Regions from separate parts of the Homo sapiens genome. Here all the other regions are linked to region 2. The links are contacts of gene promoters, found by promoter capture Hi-C in blood cells and fetal thymus (Javierre and others, 2016). All regions are on one chromosome and are shown on one strand. The core of a region is centred on a gene start or on the middle of the fragment in contact, and the rest is flanking DNA. Distances in the headings are between cores, read along the strand shown.

Region 1 (3,077 bases), core at 281-2,780, about 55 Mb before region 2:
TTATTGACCAGGCTGGTCTCGAACTCCTGACCCCAAGTGATCCACCCACCTCAGCCTCCCAAAGTGCTAGGATTATAAGCGTGAGCCACTGCGCCTGGTCCTATGAATTGGTTTTAAATTTTTAAGAAATTAATAATTCTGTAGTATCAGAAACCTTTGGTGTCTTGATTCACATCTTCTGAGCATCACCTCTCATTTCTGACTTGGTTGTGGGGGGCAGTTTCATGCAATCTTACACATTCTTCTCCCTGACAGCTTCTCCTCTCCCACATTTACCAGGCCTCTTTGCTTTCTTCCCTGAGGTTCTTCGGACTTCACACATTCCAGCAGTAGCTCTCTCAGCTCCTGTCCTGCACAGCTTTGAAGTGCTGGTAAGTCAACACATCTGGGGCCCTTCAACCAAGGGGTGACAGTCACTGATGGATAAATGCTCTTGCTTCTTACACTTGAGCAAGATAGTTTTGTAGGCCATTCTGTGTGTTTTTCAAAAAGTCCCAGTGAAATTGGGTTCTGGTTTCTCACAACAGCAACTTCAATAACACATTCTTGTATTATGTCTATATTCTCCCTTCCATTCTCTCATTGTTTCTCACTAGGATCACATCCCAAATTACCTGTCCCCACATAAGTAGTTGTCTCAGGTTTTGAGGGAAACCAAGCTAAGAAATTTGATGTAAGAAGAAAGTCTAGAATGCAGCTCCTCAGAACTCTGGAAGTGGGTTACTTTGCAGTCAGATGACAACAAGGACTTTCTTAGTGATATTAAGGGGAGGACATGTGCATGGCCCAACAATTAAGGCTCTTTCTTACTAAAGCCGATATGACTACTGCCTCTTTGGATGTCCAGCCCATCAGCAGCAAAGATTGATGGTAAATTCCATAAGGAGAGCAATTACACAAAAGTCCTTCCTTCCTGGAGAGAGCCGTGGTTTGTACTTACGGAACTGACACTTCCCTTGATATGACTGGTCTTGTTCATGGTGCCTCTGCCAGTACCATTATATAACAGAGTTACAAACACATGATTGATTGACTTCCTTCCTTCCTTCCTTCCTTCCTTTCTTTCTTTCTTTTTTCTTTCTTTCTTTCTTTCTTTCTTTCTTTCTTTCTTTCTTTCTTTCTTTCCTTCTTTTTTTCTTTCTTTTTCTTTCTTCCTTCCTTCCTTTTTCTTTTTCTTTCTTTCTCTTTCTCTTCCTTCCTTCCTTTTTCTTTTTCTTTCTTTCTCTTCCTTCCTTTTTCTTTCTTTCTTTCTCTCTTTCCTTTCTCTCTCTCTTTTCCTTCTTTCTTTTCTTTTTTCTTCCTTCCTTTCTTTTTTCTTTCTTTCCCTTCCTTCCCTCCATCTCCTCCCTCCCTCCCTCCCTTCCTTCCTTCCTCTTTCTTTCTCTCTTTCCCTCCCTCCCTCCCTCCCTTCCTTCCTTCCTTTCTTCCTTCTTTGACACAGAGTCTCACTCTGTTGCCCAGGCTGGAATGCAGTGGCACAACCTCTGCCTCCCAGGTTCAAGCCATTCTCCTGCCTCAGCCTCCCCAGTAGCTGGGATTACAGGTGCCTGCCACTACACCTGGCTAATTTTTTTGTATTTTTGGTAGAGACACGGTTTCACCATGTTGGCCAGGCTGGTTGTGAACTCCTGACCTCAAGTGATCTGCCCACCTCAGCCTCCTAAAGTGGTGCAATTACAAGCGTGAGCCACCACACCCAGCCCAAACACATGATTTTCTGATGTATTGCCTCCAACTAAAGGACACACTTTATGGTAAAAGAGGTGTGACAATGACACACGACCATGGAATTCCACTGGTCCTACCATATATTGTATCAACTGGAGGAAATTGGCCTGATAGAACACTGACATTGTTTTGTGAACATCAGCAAGTATCCTTTTCAGGAACAGTGCTCAGATAGGGTTGAGATGCCGTCACTCCTGACACACACACACACACACACACACACACACACACACACACACACCTGGCCCTTGGGAAGTTTGGTGGCATTAACACCCCCAGGCAATGATCCACCAATGGGGAATGGGCACCTATGGATAAATGCCTTCCATTTCCTAGGAGCAATTTTTGGGAGGTGTTTTTATGTATTTTAGGATGTCCTAGATAATCAAGTCATGTGACTTGGGGGAGCGAGAAAGAGAAACCAGCAGTGGAGACTTAGAAGAAGCAGCTGTTGACATAGGATGGGTCCAGGAATGTACAGTCTTCTAAAAGCCAGGTGAAGACAATGTTTAAAGGAGGAAGGAGTGATCAACAATGTCAGTTCGTGTCAATTGGTGTTACTTAGTCATGTGTCTGTGAAGAATCATCTTGCATAGTTAAGTCTCAGGTTCTAGTGTCAGATTAAATTTAAATCCTTGCACCACCCCTTGCTCTTTGAGTGTCTTTGTGCAAATTGCTTAAATTCTCTAAGTCTCAATCTCCCCATCTGTGAAATGGGAATGACAGTAGTACCTATGTGGTAAATTGTAGTGATGAGTAAGTGAAAGATGTTTAAAGATGGTTAAATGGTTAGCACAACACCTATTACCTGACAAACACTTAGTAAAAGTTAGCTATTAATATTCTTATTAATATAGCCTACTATCATTAGAATAATCCATTTATATATAGTCATCAGTTGTCACTTTTCTAGCTCTTCCATAAGGAATAGGTTATATAGCATTTCCAAACTAGGAAGTTCATTGATAGATATATGGTTCCAGATGCACTGAGCAGAAAAACTAGTTAATTTGATTTTCATTAAATATCCATTTAATAAATACTTATTGAGCACTTACTCTGCATGCTACTGGGTATTGTGGATATGTGGATGACAAGACAGACATGGATCCCTGCCCTCACAAAGCTCACAGCCTTGTGTGGTGGAGATAATTAATTACACAAGTAATTATAGTGTGATTTGTGTTGATAAGGGTATTAACTACAGGATGCAATGGGAGCTATAGGCTATGCTAATGAGGCTGTGGTTATAGATTCAGTTCCCCTGTAGGTTGCTTGACTTCCAGGGCTATCAGTTTTTCTCTGCTGTCTCCTAAATGGATAGAGGTTCACAGAACTGGGCCACCTGG
Region 2 (3,217 bases), core at 420-2,919:
TCAAAACATCATGCCTATGGCAAGCTTGTTGACTTTTTAAGGATCAGAAATCTTTGCTTTGTAAATGTGACAGTCTTATGATTCTTACATTTTCTTTTAATCTCCATTTTGTTTTATCTTAAATTTATTAAAACTTCTCTGAGAAGGTAAGTTTTCCTCAGCCCTTCTAAGGGATTTTCCAGCTAGTGGTCTCCGTCATCAAGTTCTACTCTGTTGAATTCCTTCGGGGTTGGATTTTGTTTATAACAATAATTTTACTTTTTCTGAACGCCCTTTTAAAACGTCACACTGAGATCCACCAGAAGAGTAAGAATAACATTAGGCTTGTTTTTATAATTCATCCCAGACATCCCAAGTGAGAATTAAAAAAAAAAATTACTCATTTCTATTTTCCTTTCTCAAAAACACATTACAAAAAGATTGTAAAACAAAGTCTTGAGGGATTGATTAGTCAAGACAGGGGGTGAAACTCTTAAGAATCCAGTGGAATCAGGACAACCCAAACTTCCTTTGTAGAAGAGCATTTGCTATTAAGAGTGCTTAAAATATCAGAAGACTAGAGAGAGGAAAGAACAGATCTTCACCACATGCCTGTGACTTATTCTTCCACCCTGCACTAATCTTACAATGTGGGCTGCGGTTGGTCTAAAGCTTAAATCAACAAGTACTGTAAAGGTTTTAGAACAGTGCAGACCACACAGTAAGGTGCTCAGCAGGTACTGGCTGAATACTGTAATAGTCCCTGTAGATAAAAGCCACAAACCCTGTCCCTAAGTAGCTCCTTTTGGTTGGAGTGACTGACAAGCAACAATTACTTCACAGCGCTTATTAAGGGCTGAGATAGGGGTTAGCTCAAGTGTCTGTGGAAGCAGACCAGTGGGTCTCAAACTTTTTTTGTCTCTGGACCTCTACACAATATTTGTTACCACAAATAATGTATTTATGAAAAGCATATTTTCCAAATTAATAAAAGGGTGATATCTAAAATTTCTGCAGATTTCCTCAATGTCTGGCTTAATAGAAGATGGCTGGATTCTCTTATCTGTTTCTGCATTGAATCAGCTGCTATATGCTGTTTTGGTTGAAGGGTGGGAAGAAAATTTGGCCTTAGACACATGCTCCTGGCAAAGGAATGGAGGCTCTACTGAAAGGTCTTGGCGACCCCTCAGGGAAACCTGGGACCACATTCTGAAGACTGCTTACTGGATACCAAGAATGTTTCTTGGAGGTAGCAATTTGAGTCCTGAGGTAGATCAGCCATGTAGGGTGAGGGTAACGGAGGTAGTTAATGGTAAGGCTGCTGTGCCGAGCCAGCACAGATATTTGGGCAGAGGGCTCATCTACTCCATCCTATTCTACCATTCTTGAACTCACAGTCAATTAATAAAAAGTACCTGGGGTTGGGGAGCTGCGCATCAATATTATATTAACTGTGAAGCCTTAGTGCTTACTACGGTCGAGAAAAAGCGCTCCTCTGATTCGCCCCTCCCGGCGGCGCGGAGGTGTGAGCTAGAAGCCCGCAGGCGGTGCCGCGTCCTCCGAAGACAGGGAGGGGCGCGGCAACGCCGGGAAGCGCTGCAGCCCGGGGCCCCACGGAGGCGCGGCGCTCGAGGCCCTAAAGCGCGCAGGCGCGGCAGCGACGCAGGCCGCGGCCCCCGGAACGGTAAACAGTGGGGTCACGTGACACGGCCCCTCTCCAGCTCCCGCGCCGCCGCCGCACGCCGATGGCTGCGGGGTCTCGCGCCGTCGCACCGTCCCCACGCGGCAAGCGACCTTCGGGCTCAGGGCGGCGGCGGCTGCAACGAGGATTAGGAGGGCGGCGCGGAAGCCAAGAATAGTGTCGTCAGCAGCAGCCATTTGGTCCCAGGAGGAAAAGAGGCTGTGGCAGCGACGCCGACGTCCTGCGCGTACCCCCTCTCCGCGGCACCCACCGGGCCCCCTCCTCCTCCTCTTCGGCGGCGGCAGCGTCCACCATCTTCCTCTTGCTGCCAGTGGTAGCGCTCGTCTGGCGGAGCTGGGTGAGTTGCGGCTGTGGCCGCGGCCAGGGAGACGGGCAATCCTCCCCTCCCCCATCCCCTTCCACACGCACAGCGCCTCCGCGGGCCTCTCCGCCCCTCCCGCGGCGGACTCTCCGCGCTTTTCTCCCGCGCAGCCGAGAGATCGCCTCTCGGGCCTCTTGCGCAACGTCCTCGGCCTACCTGGGCCGCGCCGCTGGCGCCTGTGGACCATTTGGACCGCGGGCTGGGGAGGGAGTCGCAGCGACGCGGTCGCCAGGCGGAGGGTCGGGACCACGGCCTCTCTCCCGACCACTGGTACCCAGCCGTCTGCTGCGAGGGCGCCCCGCCGCCGCTGAGGCGCGGGCGCGCAGGCCCGAGGCACGGCGGGCGCTGCCTGGAAGGCCCGTCTCGCAGGCCCCCGGATCCGGCCGTTGGGGCCTCTTCCTTCTCAGGGAGCCCCAGCATGGAGCTTTGGGCCTTGGTTTCGGGAAACTGGGACTGGCCCTGGCTGCTAGGCTGCTCCCTGCTGCTGCTTTTTGGAGATGAGAGTTGCTCTTCCATTTATCCTCCAGTTACCGCGCGCTTTTGTGCCCGGGACTCAAACTGTGGACTCCTTTTGCTTAGTTTGAAATGAGAAGCCTAGACTCTTGCCTTCCGATAATACATGTAATTTAATGAACCACTTGTCGATACGTACGTGTTAATGGTGCTAAATAACTGATCACCTGACACGGGGGGCGGGGGCGGTGCGGAGAGTAGAAAGGAAGAGAATGTTGATATCGCGCACGGAGTCCTGTGTCCCTCCTTTCCCTCAGGATGTGTTGCCGGGTTAGGTGACCTTTTTCCATCTTTGGGCTTTTAAATGCCAATTCCTAGAGACTAGATTGGGGTGGTTATTAGTGCTTTCCAGTAGTCACGCGTAGAATATGTTCATGGATTAATGTTAAGTGGCAACACTGCTTTAATATTCTAGTCCTAATCTGCATTACATGTAGCGATATTTAATTTAAAAAGAATAATCGATTATTGAGGCTTCTCTAAATACTAACTTTACTATCTTATTTTAAGCTAAATTTAAAAACCAATGCAGTAAACTCTGTAGGGAGTACTTAAACAGTACGTTGTTGTATTTAGTTACTATTTTGGGGTCGAACTTGTCTTCCCTTTGACAAAATGATTGTTAAAGGCCTAACAAAACTACGCCTCCATTATTCATTTTT
Region 3 (3,273 bases), core at 774-3,273, about 47 Mb before region 2:
GTCCCTACTGCACAGCATACGGTAAACAAAATAAAAATAGCTTGCCTTTCTTGTTAGCCACATCGCGCATTATATAACCAGCTTCTTCCGACTGTTTTTTTTTTTTTTTTTTTTTTTTTTTTGCCCTTACTACTCTTCAGCAATTTCCCTCTTCTCAAATATTTATATTACCCTTTTATCTGTAGGATTATATACCAAGAAAGCAAAACAAAACAGAGCAGCCACGGGCTCGAACCGAATCCCCGCCGTCCTTAGAAACGGATTTTTTTTTGTTTTGTTTTGTTTTCTGGCAGAGTCTCGATCACCACCCTACTTCCACCCCCACTAAGGTTCTTGCTCAATCTCCCTAGAAAACCTGAATTGTTTCATCCCTTTCAGTCAGCCCCCTACGTGGTCTGAAACAAAATGAAAGCACAAGCCACGGAGTTTAAGAAGGCAGCCTGAAGGCGGGGGGCTGAAGAGGGGTCGGGGCGCTGCAGAGTCAGCCAAGTAGCCAAGGAAGGGCCCCCTCCGCGTCGCGACGGCCCTCGCCCCCCGCCCGGCGCGCGCGCGCACAAATACACACACACAGTCACTCACACACTCACTCACACTCACGCCGCGCTCCGACACCGCCTCACCTCTCGCTCCGCCCGTCCGGCCCCCTTCCCTGCCCCCTGCGGGACCGGCCTGCGCGCAGCACTGGAACCACGTAGGAGGAGGCGGCGGCGCCCCCGGGAGTGGCAGAGTCTCCGGCCCGGCCCAGAGTGAACGAGCAGTGGGGCTCCAGGGCGCATCCCAATCCCCGCAGCGCCTCCTCCGCGGCGGCCGCCGCCTCCTCCTCCTTCCCCTCCTCCTGGCTTCATTCACCCTCCCAGCAGCCGCGCAGCCGTTCACTCCCGGCTCAGGGCAGCGCCTGCCGCGGCTCCTCGTCTCCTGCCGCGGGTGCTGGCGGGGGCGCCGGCCCGGACTGGGGCGCTCGCGGGCTCCCGGCTCCGGGCGGCGGCTGCCGCTGCACATGATCAGGAAGCGGCCGCACCAACAGGGCGGCGGTGGCGGCGGCGGCCAGGGCCGTCACCGCCACTCCAGCCGCGCTCCAGGCACCCGCACACCCGCTACCCCCGCGCGGTCCCCGAGGCCACCCCTCTGCGCCCCCCGCCCGGCACCCGGCCGCGCGCAAAGTCCCGTCCCGGCTGCAGGAGCAGTCCCTTCCCCGCCCGCAGCCGCACACCCGGCGAGGCCGGCCCTCCGAGGGGAGACCCCCGCCCCAGGGCGCCGAGGCCGGGCGACCACCCGCGGAGAAGTCCAGCCCTCCGTGAGACCCCCTCTCTCTCACCGCCCTCTCCGGGGAGGAGGAATGGGAAGAGGGCGGCCGGGAAAGGGACCACCCCCCAACCCCAGCCGCCGCCTCCCCCCTGCGCCACCCGGAGGGAGGAGGACATGGCTCTCCGCACTTGCGACCGGACCAGCAGCCGGGGGAGCGGGGCGCCGCCGCCGCTCTCCCCGCCCGCGCCCCCCGCCCGGGCGCGCCCCCTAGCCCGGCGGGCGCCCACCCAGCCCCTGACAGCCCCCCCGCCGGCCGCCCCTGCGCCCAGAGTGGGGGTGTCGGCCCGGGAGCCTGGAGCCGGGGACGGTTGTATGTACACACATACACACACACACACACACACACGCACACACACAGAACACGACGCGTCGATTTCCTTCGCTCCTCTTCCAGCTGTTTTCCGTGCAGCCGATTGGGGTTTTGGGTTTGTTTGCTGGTTGTTGCTTTTGCCCCTCTCGGGAGATCGGGGGAGGAGGGATTTTAATCTAAATAAGGGGAGAAGGGAATGGGGGAGGGGGGAAAGAATCGGAGGAGGAAAAAAAAATAGTCACTTACTGTAAAGTGTAAATGGATCTGGGGTTGCGTGGGGAAGGGGGGGCAGAGGGAGAGAAACAATGTCTTGCGGCTGCTGTTGCTCTGGCTGCTGCTCCACGGGGCTTGTTTTGGATCCCCCTGCAGTGAAACAGGTCCTGTACGGCTCCGCCACTGTAGTAGAAATGATGTCTGCGGTATACTCTGCTCTCTCCTCCTCCTCCTCCTCCTCCTCCTCCCCCTCCTCCCGCTCCCCTCCCCTCCCTCCTCCCTCCGCCCGCCCGCCCTCCCTCCCTCCCTCGCGCTCTCTCGCGCTCGCTCGCTCGCTCGCTCCAGTATGTAAATGTGTAATAGAAGCCAAATATGGAGCAGTTGGCTGCCGCCGCCGCAGCTCAAGGATCCGACTTCATGGGGGTGGGGGGCACCCTCTGGCGGGCGGCCCGGCGAGCCGCACAGAGCACGGCGAGCGCACCGCGCGGCGGCCGGCCCGCGCCCTTAACCCTTCGCTGCGCGCCGCCCGGGGAGGCGGGCACCTTTCCCAAAGAGTGGCTCGGGATGGGGTGCGGGGGAGGGGAGACGCGGACCGGAGGGCAAGGTTCCTTCCAGGTTTGGGAAGGGGGCGGGGAGCTGGGCGATGAGGTAATTTGAGCGGTGACGGGTCGGTCCTCGCGCGCCTCCCTGGGTCCCTGCACCTAGTTGGAGGGGACTGAACGACAACGGGGCGCTACTCAGGCAACCTGGGGGACTCCCCCAAGGGCTGTCAGGCTTCAGCTGGGAGCCGATGCAACACCCCAGCGGGGAGGGGAGGTCGGCCCATTCTAATCCCGACGTGTCCTTGGTCCCAGGCGCTCGGAGCAGCATCTGAGAGGGCTCACTCTGATCATCAGCTGCACGTTAAGCCACAAACCGGCGTCGCTTCGGCGTTCCGGAACCCAGGCCTGGGGGCCGCGGGGATTGCCTCTGCGTGCAACTCCGGAAAGTTTCAAGGGGTCCCCCGACTGCACAGGTACCCTCACCTTTCCTGCCGGCGAACGCTGGCGACCGCCCGACCCTGCCCTCTTTCTCTCTTCGCACGCAGGTCCGGAAATCGGCTTTGATATGGAACTACTCCGCTCTAGCCTGGAAAGGAGACCCGCGCACTCCTCTCGCAGCTAATTTCGGATCATTAATTTAATCGGAAATGAGGTAACCAGTGTAGGAGACAGAGAAAGCAACCGGAGCATCAAATGGCAGTTCTCGAGAATCGACGAGGAACTTAAATCTGGACTCAGGGTTTCAGTGCGGTCTCCGACTCCCACCACCCCGCCCCTCCGCCTGTCTCGCCGCCAGGTGTGACCTCCACGCGAAGGAATCTTCTTCGGATGGGTGCACCTTGCCAACAGGTGTGGCACCTGGAGGACTAGGAGGCGCCTCCAGACTAAGGGCGCTCAGTGCGG
Region 4 (2,905 bases), core at 386-2,885, about 46 Mb before region 2:
AAGCTTTAGAAAAAGCTCTCTACATACTTACACCATTCTGTTAACCCCTTCGGTAATAACAGAATACTGTCCTCCACCAACACTCAGAAATAAGTCTCATAATTACTGTTAATTATATATGGGAGAATAAACAGGAAAGCAAGTACAACATCTAAAAACAAGACAAAAATCTTCAAATATAGGCATTTCATAGTCACTGCTGCCAATATATGTATATAAATACAACAGACTTTTGTATATTGACCTTGTATCCTGTGACCCTGTTAAACTCGCTTATTAGTTGTGGTGGCTTTTTTTGTATTTTCTTTGGATTTTTCTACGTAGATAAGCATGTTATCTGTGTACAGTAAAAATATTACAGGAATAATACCCTTTCCAATCTGCATGCATTGATTTCTGTGCCTACTGCACTGGCTAGCACCTGCAGTATGATGTTAAACAGTAGCAGTGATAGCAGACATCCTTGCTTGCTTCCTCATACCATTAAGTATGTTGCCAGATGATTTTTTTGTAAATGCACTTTATCAGGTAGAAGGATCTCAACTATACCTAGGTTTGTTCAAAAATTTTTATCATGACTAAATGTTGGATTTTTAAAAAATATTTTATGTATCTATAGAGATGTTCATATAGTACTCTTTAGATTGTTTACATGGTAAATCCCATTAATTTTTTATTTTTTATTTTTTTTTAGACAGAGTCTCAGTCTGTTGCCCAGGCTGGAGTGCGGTGGCACAATCTCGGCTCACTGCAACCTCCGCCTCCCAGGTTCAAATGATTCTCCTGCCTCAGCCTCCCGAGTAGCTGGGATTACAGGCACGTCCAACTGCAACCGGCTAATTTTTGTATTTTTAGTAGAGATAGGGTTTCACCATGTTGGCCAGGCTGGTCTCGAACTCCTGACCTCAGGTGATCTAAGGCCTTCCAAAGTGCTGGGATTACAGGCATGAGCCACCACACCTGGTCTAATCCCATTAATTTTCATATGTTGAGTCAACCTTGCCTTCCCAGGATAAACCCCACTTGATCATGATGCAGTTTCCTTTTTAAATTTGTTGGATTCCATTTACAAATATTTTTGTTGAGGTTTGTGTCTATAATTCATGAGAAATAATAGTCTGTTGCTGTCTTCTAATGTCTTTGTCTGATTTTGGTCTCGGGGTAATAATGTTGGCCTCATAAAAGGTACTGGGAAGTGTTCCCTACTCTCCTACTATACATAAGAGTTTGTGTAGAATTGGTATTATTTCTTTCTTAAATGTTTGGTAGGATTCACCAGGGAAGCTATCTGAGCCTGAAGCTTCTTTGCTGGAACGTATTTTAAATTATGAACTCAATTCACTGAAAAGATAAAAGTTATTCAGGCTACATATTCTTGACTAATACCAAATAACAAAAGTCTAACAAATAAGTCTAACAAAATATGTTCGAGATCTGTATGCTGAACACTACAAAACACTGATGAAAAAAATTTATAAACCACCTAAATGGGAAGATATACCATGTTCATGGTTTGGAAGACTCAATTTTGTTAAGATGCCTATTCTCCCCAAATTGGTCTTTAGACTCAAATGCAATCTCAATCATGGCTGGGCATGCTGGCTCATACCTATAATACCAGCACTTTTGGGAGGCCAAGGTGGGCGGATCACCTGAGGTCAGGAGTTCGAGACCAGCCTGGCCAACATGGTAAAACCCTGTCTCTACTAAAAATACAAAAATTAGTGGGGCATGGTGGTGTGTGCCTGTAGTCCCAGCTACTTGGGAGGCTGAGGCAGGAAAATTGTGTGAACCTGGGAGGTGGAGGTTGCAGTGAACCAAGATCATGCCACAGCACTTCAGCTTGGGCAACAGAGCAAGATCCCATCTAAAAAATAAAAAAAGCAATTCCAATCAAAATCCTAGCAGACTGTAGAAACAAGCCAATTTTAGATTTTTATAGAAAAGCAAAGGACCTAAAAAAGCCAAAACAAGCTTGAAAAAGAACAAAATTGGACTACTCACATCACCTAATTTTAAGACCTACCGGGAAGCCTATGGCAATCAAGACAGTGCAGTTGGCAAAAGGAAAGACACACAGATCAATGGGTGGGTCGGGGGAGGGATGGTCAAAAGTCCAGAAATAAAGCCATGTGAACTGGATTTCAACAAAGGTGCAGGCCAGGCCTGGTGGTTCATGCTTGTAATCCGAACACTTTGGGAAGCCAACACAGGAGGATCGCTTGAGCCCAGGAGTACAACACCAGCCTAGGCAACTTAGTGAGACCCTGTCACTACCAAAAAAAAAATTTAGCTGGGAATGGTGGCACACGCCTGTGGTCCCAGCTACTCAGGAGGCTAAAGTGGGAGGATCACTTGAGCCCAGGAGGTTCTGGTTGCAGTGAGCCATGATCGTGCCACTGCACTCCAACCTGTGTGACAGAGCAAGGCCCTGTCTCAAACAAAAACACAGAACAAAGACGGTGCAAAAGCTATTCAATGAACAAAGAACAGTCTTTTTAACAAATAACACTAGAACAATTGCACACCCATATGTTAAAAAAACAAAAAACAAAAAACAAAAAACCTTGGCCAGGCACACCTGTAATCTCAGAACTTTGGGAGGCTGAGGCAGGAGGATTGCTTGAGCCCAGCAGTTCAGGATCAGCCTGAGCAACGTAGTAAGACTCCTACCTTTCATTTTTTAAAAAAACTTTTTAATTTAGAAAATAAAATGAACCTTGACCAATACCTCATACCACACACAAAAATCTACTCAAAATGAATCATAGGCATAAATTAAAACCTAAAACTATAAAACTTGTAGAAGAAAACATAAGACAAAATCTTTGTGACATGGGATTATAATAGTAAAAATATCTCAGATACGACACCAAAAGCATGAAACCATTAAGAATACACACAC

Evidence for each region. Contacts are between HindIII fragments. The CHiCAGO score rates a contact against its expected background, and 5 or more counts as called.
Region 1: a contact is called between a fragment that was not itself captured here and the fragment with the promoter of PHF3 in region 2, in 1 of 17 cell types (total CD4 T cells). The highest score is 5.2, in total CD4 T cells.
Region 3: the fragment with the promoter of ATXN1 here is called in contact with the fragment with the promoter of PHF3 in region 2 in 2 of 17 cell types (naive CD8 T cells and total CD4 T cells); the score reaches 6.1 in naive CD8 T cells.
Region 4: a fragment that was not itself captured here is called in contact with the fragment with the promoter of PHF3 in region 2 in 1 of 17 cell types (total CD8 T cells); the score reaches 5.0 in total CD8 T cells.

Annotation. Positions count from the first base shown.
Region 1 is chr6:8,437,661-8,440,737 of GRCh38, forward strand. LOC100506207 (a long non-coding RNA gene) reads left to right here. Exons shown (of 5, transcript NR_038980.1): 2 at 280-371. Among named protein-coding and RNA genes, the nearest start is that of SLC35B3, 3.7 kb to the left of the region's middle. The HindIII fragment of the contact is 6,003 bases long and covers 1-3,077 here.
Region 2 is chr6:63,634,133-63,637,349 of GRCh38, forward strand. PHF3 (PHD finger protein 3) reads left to right here and starts at 1,670. Exons shown (of 16, transcript NM_001370348.2): 1 at 1,670-2,018. RefSeq lists enhancers at 358-895, 1,427-2,247 and silencers at 1,465-1,824, 2,265-2,444. The HindIII fragment of the contact is 3,030 bases long and covers 650-3,217 here.
Region 3 is chr6:16,759,437-16,762,709 of GRCh38, forward strand. ATXN1 (ataxin 1) reads right to left here and starts at 2,024. Exons shown (of 8, transcript NM_001128164.2): 1 at 1,862-2,024. It overlaps ATXN1-AS1 (ATXN1 antisense RNA 1), which reads left to right and starts at 1,702. Exons shown (of 3, transcript NR_136240.1): 1 at 1,702-1,730; 2 at 2,683-2,843; 3 at 2,916-3,273. RefSeq lists silencers at 432-791, 802-1,281, 1,352-1,481, 1,958-2,117, 2,125-2,340 and 1 more and an enhancer at 2,478-3,273. The HindIII fragment of the contact is 4,299 bases long and covers 1-3,273 here.
Region 4 is chr6:17,670,138-17,673,042 of GRCh38, forward strand. All of the region lies in intron 5 of NUP153 (nucleoporin 153), which reads right to left. Among named protein-coding and RNA genes, the nearest start is that of NUP153, 35 kb to the right of the region's middle. The HindIII fragment of the contact is 674 bases long and covers 1,299-1,972 here.